Regions from separate parts of the Homo sapiens genome. Here region 1 is linked to region 2. The links are contacts of gene promoters, found by promoter capture Hi-C in human tissues and cell types (Jung and others, 2019). All regions are on one chromosome and are shown on one strand. The core of a region is centred on a gene start or on the middle of the fragment in contact, and the rest is flanking DNA. Distances in the headings are between cores, read along the strand shown. Region 1 has its middle 7.3 kb from the start of OR1Q1. Region 2 holds the start of OR1N1 (olfactory receptor family 1 subfamily N member 1).

Region 1 (4,482 bases), core at 1,039-3,538, 80 kb before region 2:
AGGAGAGCAGCCAGGACCTGGGAGATCAGTCTGGACATGGGGTTGACTACATGTGCTCCAAATTTGGCTTTGAGAAGGAAGCCCACAGAAATTTCGATATGGTCAAGGCAGGGAGGGACTGTCTCCCTGCCCTTAGTTCTTTCTTAGAGATGCAGCGTCTTATTTGCTTTTTTTAGTGGTACATACTTATATTTTTAAAAAATTAGCAGTAAGACATATGTTGAATAAAAACTGAGAGTGTTTCTCACCACTCCCTACCTGATTTCTCTCTAGGAGTAATTGCTATTATTGTGACATGTACCCATTTAGACAATTTCTATGCACATATGAACATGCATATATAAAATTTTGTTTTTATAAAAATAGGATCATTTGTTCTGGAGCTTTCTTTGTTTCTCTCATCAATATATCATGGACCTCCTACAGCACTCTCAGACCTACATCATTATTTTTAAGACATTTCAGAGGATATTAGATGTACCACAAGTTCTAAACATTTCCACATTTCCCCCTCATGCCACTTACTGGAATTCCTTTATAACTTGAGCTAATCAAAAATTTAGGCTTTTGTTTTCATTTTATATGCATACAAGTCCCCCACATGCAGGCATTTGGCAAAAACAAACAACAATTCTGAGAGTGGATAATGAACTAGTCAGGGCATGAACATTTTGTGAAGATGATTAAAGATGACTGATATCACTGGTTCTCTCCTCATCCATTTCAAAATGTAAACATGGCAACAATGAAGTCTTGGGCTGAGAGACGCTATAGTGGTTGGGCTCTCAGGAGACTGATCCACTCCCAGCTCTGAGTCTTGGGGTCAGGATCCTAAGGTCTTGAGTAAGGGTGTTAGGATGTTTTTATTCCAAGCAGTTTTCCCAGTGCCCCCTTCATATCCCTGTTCCTCAGGCTGTAGATGAAGGGGTTCAACATGGGAGTCACCACCGTGTACATGACTGAGAAGACTCTGTCCTTTCCATCTGAGTGGGATGATGGAGGACATAAATAGACACCGATAGCTGTGCTATAGAACAGAGAGACTACAGAGAGGTGGGAAGTGCAGCTGGAGAAGGCCCTTTGCTTACCCCTTGGGGAATCAATTCTCAGGATGGCCAATGCAATGTAAAAGTAGGACATAAGGATGCAGACAAAGGGCGCAATCAGCAGTGTTCCTGCCACAAGGATGAGCACCAGATCATTGACACAAGTACTGGAGCAGGCCAGCTTCAGGAGTGGGACCAGATCACAGAAGAAGTGAGGGATAATATTTGGACCACAGAAGGAAAGCCTGGTCACTAGGAGGGTATGCACTAGGGCATGTAAAATAGTGATCACCCATGACACAGCCACCAACAGGACACAGCGTTGGGAGTTCATGGTTAGGGCATAATGGAGAGGATGGCTGATGGCCACATAGCGGTCAAGGGCCATCACAGCCAGGAGAAAGTTGTTGTCCAGATCTGCAAATAGGCCAGAGAAATAGAGTTGTGTCAGACACTCCCCATAAGAAATCAGCTTAATTCCTGAGCTAATATGATCTAGCATATTGGGAATTATTGTAGAGATAAAGCCAATATCCAAAAAGGACAGGTTGGACAGGAAGAGGTACATGGGGGGTGTGGAGGTGCAGGTCAGAGCCAATGGCCAGGATGATTAGCAGGTTCTCCAACACAGTGACCAAGTACATGACCAGGAAAAGCCCAAACAAAAGAGCCTGCTGCTCCTGGTGTTCAGAGAAGCCCATGAGAAGAAATTCATAGATGCAGGTCTGGTTTCTTCTGTCCATGTCTCAAATTCTGTGTGAAATACATTTTGTTATAAGTAGCAAAAGAGTAAAATAATGCTGTGTTAAAAGTACTTCAAACTCCTGTTTGAAAAAATTCTGTGGTTAAATAATTCTGTTTTGAGAAAGCTTGGATTTATTATTGTGCATGTTAAAAAGTTTGGGTCAGACCATTTGTCAAGTTATCGATTGGTGTCAGTATTTGATAAGATATCTAAGGCTCCTTTGAACTATTTCAGCTGTCCATATGATACATATCAGCCACCAGTAAAAGTGTGCCTTGGATTGTACATGTCCTATCTGTTTACACAAGTACTTTTCTCTTAGTAATAATATAATTAAGTAAAAAATGTAAAATACCAGAACAGTGTGTATACGCATAGTTACAGTTAAGTAAAAATGAAACAGAAATATTTGTGTATGAATAAGAACACAATCTAGAAGAACACACTCAAAAGATGGATAATGTTTGCTTCTAGGGAGTGAGTGTGGGGGGAAGAATGGTGGGTGTCAACTTCTGTATGACACACACCATTTCTTTTACTAGCATGTGTTATTTTTGAAAGTAAAAGATTATTTTTAAGTGTGATGGATGTGATGGGTTGAACTAATTTAAATGGTGGTCCAGAAGCCAATATGGAGATTTTGAGAGACCCAGAATTCTGACAAGTTAACCAGGGTGTCATCTCTAAAAAGCAGCTCTGGCAAGTAAGTAGAACAAAAATCAAATCATTTGACTTTGTGCAAAGAAAAAAAATTGAAGTTATGGAGCAAGACTTTTTCATCATAGTCACTTTACTTAGAGTAATATTTTGGCTTTCCCTAAGAAAAGCTACAGGAAATGCATTGAATTCTGCTCCAGTATCCCCAAGCATGCCTGGGAATGACACATGCTTTCCCTAACACCTCTGATATACCTCACTCGCAGGTACTCCTCACTCATAAGATAGGTGCTCCTCACTCACAGGTGCTTCTTGCAGGTGCTCCTCACTCATAGATGCTCCTCACTCATAGGTGCTCCTCACTCACAGATGATCCTTACTCAGAGGTGCTTCTCACTCATAGGATAGGTGCTCCTCACTCATAGGATAGGTGCTCCTCACTCACAGGTGCTCCACATAGGATAGGTGGTCCTCACAGGTGCTCCTCACAGATGCTCCTCACTCAGAGGTGCTCCTCACTCACAGGTGCTTCTCCAGTCAGTTTGGCTTCTCCTGGCCCCTTGGATTTAAAAACCTAAACTTTAGATGGTCTATTCCAGCTCCTGAACCCTTCCTTGCCTTATTATATTTATTTATGAGATTTATATATTTTACATCTAAATAGAAGGTGTCAAATCCTTCATTTGCCCCCAAAGCCACACCTTAATTTGTCTCTAGTGCCGCTCAAAGAATACCTTGATTTGGGACTTGAAATTCCTTTTTTCCCACAGAAGCCATAGTGAGGATATACCAGGATCTCTTAAATAGATAATACTGGACATTAAGTTTATCCAATCCACAGCCCTTGTTCTGACACTATGAAAAAAGTTGGAGTAATAATCATAGCTAATACTGGCTGAGCACTAGCCATTGCCAGGTTCTGAATTCACTTAAGTGATAGCCCTGTGCACCAGCACTGTGAATATCTTTATTTAAAAATGTAGAAACTGAAGTTCAGGGTGGCGATGCAATTGCTGAAGTCTACAGCAGCAGGTATTGAAGTGAAGTTTGTCTGAGTCAAAAGCTTAAGTTCTAAACCACTGTGCTACACTGCCTTTCAATATTCACCAAGTCATTTTCTGACTCTAGTTCAGTCTCATGCATATTTTCTATAAGGAGGGAATGCACCATCAGGGAATTTAAATATCCATTCAATTTGACAGTTGCAGTTCTCAAAGCAAATGAAGATGTGGATATTTTTGGCTTATGCCTCAATCTTTTGTGAACATGATTGACGTGAGTTAGTCTACTTTGGTCCAATCCAATGTCTGGACAAGATCCAATTTTTACACTTGATTTGTACTCTGAGATGGAGCTATCCTGAAAGCAACAGACTCCTTCCTTCCTGGTATCTGTAGCTCCTCTCCCCCTAATTGCAACCAAGTCCAGATTCAGAAGCTAAGCAGATAGCAGATGTACAGTGATAATTTTTGTCATATTCATTTATTTATATCATCTTTACAGTAAGAGTTAGAAACAAGTAACATTTATTCCAGTTTACACTTTTCTTTCCCAAGGGATACACACCTTCAGGTTGCAAGTTTTTATTAAATAATGAATAAAGGAATTTCATTATTTAATAAAAACATGCAGTCCAATTACATTGACTCCAAATAAAATTTTATTAACATGAATTAATGTTCTCAGAATTATCCAGAAATTCTAAGCAAGTAAACTAATAAAACTTAAAACAATTGACTTTGGGGAAAAGGTATGTCATTCGGTTTCAATTTTATTATGATGATAGATACTGTCACATCCTGGTCAGTGGGTTTAAGCTGAAGGTGTGTCTCACAATCATCTGGGGAGCATTTCATTTTTTTTTTTTTTTTTTTTTGAGATGGAGTTTCGCTCTGTTGCCCAGGCTGGAGTGCAGTGGTGCAATCTCGGCTCACTGCAAACTTTGCCTCCCGAGTTCAAGCAATTCTCTGCCTCAGCCTCCTGAGTAGCTCGGATTACAGGCGCTTTCCACCACGCCCAGCTAATTTTTGTGTT
Region 2 (4,341 bases), core at 415-2,914:
CATCTAGATCTGTAAGATATTAATGACAAAGAATTCTAAAAATGAAAAGATAGCTGATTTTTAAAAAGAACACCTGTCTGAGAGCATTGATACCCTGGTTTTCATACCGTATCTTCCTCCAAGACATAGTGTAAACTTTTTCAATCACTTTGGTCTTTTGAACTTTAGCTTATTTATCTGAATCAAAGGGAGGAGTTGGACTAAGCAAAATTTTCTTAATCCTCACTGAGCATCAAAATACCTGAGAAGCCTTCAGTTTTAGTTTTTAAATACAGGTACCTAAATTGTATCCTAGAAATTTAAATTTGACAGGTCTGAGGTAGGGATTATTATTTTTATCTTTATTTATTTATTTATTTTAGACGGAGTCTTGCTCTATTGCCCAGGCTGGAGTGCAATGGCATGATCTCGGCTCACTGCAACCTCCAACTCCCAGGCTCAAGTGCTTCTCCGGCCTCAGCCTACCAAGTAGCTGGGATTACAGGCACATGCCACCACACCCGGCTAATTTTTGTATTTTTAATAGAGATGGGGTTTTGTCATGTTGGTCAGGCTGGTCTTGAACTACTGACCTCAGGTAGATCCGCCTGCCTCGGTCTCCCAAAGTGCTGGGATTACAGGCATGAGCCACTGTGCCCAGCCGGGATCAGGATTTTAAATAAGCATCTCACTTGATTATGATAAACTGGTCTACAGACCAATGCTTGAGACCTCTGGGCCAGGTGATCTTTCAGGTTCTATCTAGTTCTTAAATTTCGTTGTTCTTCTGTAAAACACACATATAAAAGATAGTAAAGGCAAGTGAGACTAAATACGTTAAACTAAGAATACTGAGGGATTAAATATAAATGTGGTCCTAGAAAGTTACTTTCTATCTATATTGACTGATGGTACAGTCTCTGGAAACCATTGCTGTGGGTTTGAATTCTGTCTCAAATATTTATGAGCTCTGGGTCCTTGTACAATTTACTTAAACATCCTTAGACTCAGTTTTCTTATATAAGGGTAAGAATAACAATCTCTGCATCCTAGTGTTGTTTAAGGATTAAAGGAAACAATCTTCATAAAGTACTTAGTAGAGTACCTGTCATATATGTGGCTAACATGTAATATGCGTTAGCTACAGGATGATGATGATGCCAATGACAAAAACTCAAATGCAGGGAGAAATGCAGGACTTCGTATTTTCTTTTTCAAAAGAAATAATGAAAAAATAAAGAGGCATGAGTCCTTCATATGCCCTTCACTCTAAAATGAATGAGGATGTGTCAAAATTAAGAATTTTGTGTGGGTTTTTTGGCTACCTCCCAAAAGAATGTAAAATTTAGCTGACCTCAGTCTACTCACATAGACAGCCTACTGCAAAAATGAAACTAACATGAGGCTATAGACTAGTCTAAGGCATGGTCATGCCAAGGGAGAATATGCCCTGACCTTATTGGAAGGGGACTCTATGTGTAAAAGATTAAATAGTGGTAAAGAGAGGAGAAAGGGGGAAAATGAGACTCTGATGAAGAGAGAAAAGAAGCAGGATCAGAATGAAGATAAAGTCAGGATTAGGAATATAATGAACTTAAAGGGAGATTTGGGAGTCAGCCCACACAGTTGTAGATGAAATCTAGCATTCTAACTGTCTTCCCTCAGCTCCAGATGCTGCAGAGTCATGGAAAACCAATCCAGCATTTCTGAATTTTTCCTCCGAGGAATATCAGCGCCTCCAGAGCAACAGCAGTCCCTCTTCGGAATTTTCCTGTGTATGTATCTTGTCACCTTGACTGGGAACCTGCTCATCATCCTGGCCATTGGCTCTGACCTGCACCTCCACACCCCCATGTACTTTTTCTTGGCCAACCTGTCTTTTGTTGACATGGGTTTAACGTCCTCCACAGTTACCAAGATGCTGGTGAATATACAGACTCGGCATCACACCATCTCCTATACGGGTTGCCTCACGCAAATGTATTTCTTTCTGATGTTTGGTGATCTAGACAGCTTCTTCCTGGCTGCCATGGCGTATGACCGCTATGTGGCCATTTGCCACCCCCTCTGCTACTCCACAGTCATGAGGCCCCAAGTCTGTGCCCTAATGCTTGCATTGTGCTGGGTCCTCACCAATATCGTTGCCCTGACTCACACGTTCCTCATGGCTCGGTTGTCCTTCTGTGTGACTGGGGAAATTGCTCACTTTTTCTGTGACATCACTCCTGTCCTGAAGCTGTCATGTTCTGACACCCACATCAACGAGATGATGGTTTTTGTCTTGGGAGGCACCGTACTCATCGTCCCCTTTTTATGCATTGTCACCTCCTACATCCACATTGTGCCAGCTATCCTGAGGGTCCGAACCCGTGGTGGGGTGGGCAAGGCCTTTTCCACCTGCAGTTCCCACCTCTGCGTTGTTTGTGTGTTCTATGGGACCCTCTTCAGTGCCTACCTGTGTCCTCCCTCCATTGCCTCTGAAGAGAAGGACATTGCAGCAGCTGCAATGTACACCATAGTGACTCCCATGTTGAACCCCTTTATCTATAGCCTAAGGAACAAGGACATGAAGGGGGCCCTAAAGAGGCTCTTCAGTCACAGGAGTATTGTTTCCTCTTAGATGTGGTGACAGCAACATTTAATGAAAAGACATAGGCTTGGAGTCAGACAAACGGGCTTCATTTTGGGGTCTACCACACACTAGCCATAAGATTGTAGTCTGGTTACTTAGCCTCTCTGAGCCTTGGTTTTCTCATTTATAAAATGGAGATAACAGTTTCTATCTAATAATGTAACTTGGAGGATTAACTGAAATAAACTATGAAATGCATTCAGTATAGTAGTGAATAACAGTAGGTGTTCAATAAGGGATAGCTATTATTATTACTATTAGTATTCTTCATTCCTCCCCCAACTCAGAAGTCAAAAAATCTTTTCTCTGAGATATATTTGTTCAATAAATATTTACTATCTATGGTGTGTTGGAAGTTATTGTAAGTGCTAGGGTTATGACACTGAGCAAGACAAAGTCCCTGCTTTCATGACACTTTCATTCTAGGTTATTAATTTGTCGATCATTAAAATTTTGGGGGCACTTGTTTTGTTTGTGGCATTAAGTGGGGAGTAAGACAAAAGAAATAAAGATGGAGGCTGCATTCCATGTGCTGCAGAATAGCTAAAGAGATCCCCATCAAAAGGTTCAAATTCAATGTTTAGGTTTCCATGCGGGTTGCCCACCCCACGGTTGGCTAATGTTTCACTAGGAAGGGGGTTAAAGCTCCTTGTGCTACCTCTGCCCCATGCTGGTCAGAAACGTGCAATGCCACCATCCTTTTAGTGACTATTAGATGAGAGGAACGTGGAAATCCTCTCTCCTTATTTGACTGCAGGTTTGCGTCCACATCTAAAAGGGGCACCAGCAGCTTAAATTAGTTGCAGAGATGGAAAAAATGATGTTTGAAGGTAAATGGCATTCTATCTGTCTCCAAGAATCTTAGAAATATTAAAAATATTATTTTAAATATAAGGGCTATATAGTTTTGATTTCTTACATCTGGTATCACCAGGTGTCCACTGGCTACCTAAACTCCTTCCTCATTTAAGTTTGTTTCTCAGACCTAACCTATTCTAAAATGTTTTATGATTGCTGCACTTTTTCAATGAATACTTATGGAGCATCTTTCATGGAATCAAACTGTTCCAGGCTTCAGCTATTAGTAAGTACAAATGTGAATCATTTAGATGCCACATCTTAGTACGCGAGGATTCCATTTATTTCATGACCTGGAACTGGAAGTCTGTTCTTCTCTCTAGAACTCCTTTCCAGATGTTCCCTCAGAGAGTCCTTGAATGGGATGAGCAGGGCATCGTCATGTAACCAGAGCTGGAGATGGTTGCAAACTTGGAGTTCTCCTGCCCTCATCTCCTTAGTCTACAACTCTCCTTCCATTCTGTTGACATCTATCGCTCCACTGACCAAAGACCACTGACAGTCTCCTCCAAGCCATTGACCTCTAGCTTTCTTCTATCATTTGAACTGGCAATGGACTATCCTCCACTTCTCATGATCAGCTCTTTCAGAAGAGGGTCTCCTAGGAGAGCTCTAAGGCCCCTGATGACACAGCTAGTGGACATGAGGAAGCCTGAGGTGTGAGATCACCAGATACAGCCTCACACTATATCTGAAACCTATGTCCACCCTGATACCCTAAATCTGCTGCTCAGATTCACCCAATCAACTTTACCTTCTTTACTCATGGTGTCTATGTCGCCTTCTGGTTTCATTCACCATTCTGATCCTCAGGGACCCTCAATCCACTCACTGATAGTGCGGTAAATTTATGAATCCTGTTTGGGTATGGT

What was found. Contacts are between HindIII fragments. The study calls those that stand out against the background at their distance.
Region 1: a fragment that was not itself captured here is called in contact with the fragment with the promoter of OR1N1 in region 2 in 2 of the 25 tissues and cell types used here (IMR-90 fibroblasts and mesendoderm cells).

What each region holds. Positions count from the first base shown.
Region 1 is chr9:122,605,171-122,609,652 of GRCh38, reverse strand. It overlaps the pseudogene OR1H1P. Among named protein-coding and RNA genes, the nearest start is that of OR1Q1, 7.3 kb to the left of the region's middle. The HindIII fragment of the contact is 3,849 bases long and covers 364-4,212 here.
Region 2 is chr9:122,524,616-122,528,956 of GRCh38, reverse strand. OR1N1 (olfactory receptor family 1 subfamily N member 1) reads left to right here and starts at 1,664. Exons shown (of 1, transcript NM_012363.1): 1 at 1,664-2,599. The coding sequence starts at 1,664. The coding sequence ends at 2,599. It also overlaps a transcript of OR1J2 not described here. The HindIII fragment of the contact is 9,333 bases long and covers 1-4,341 here.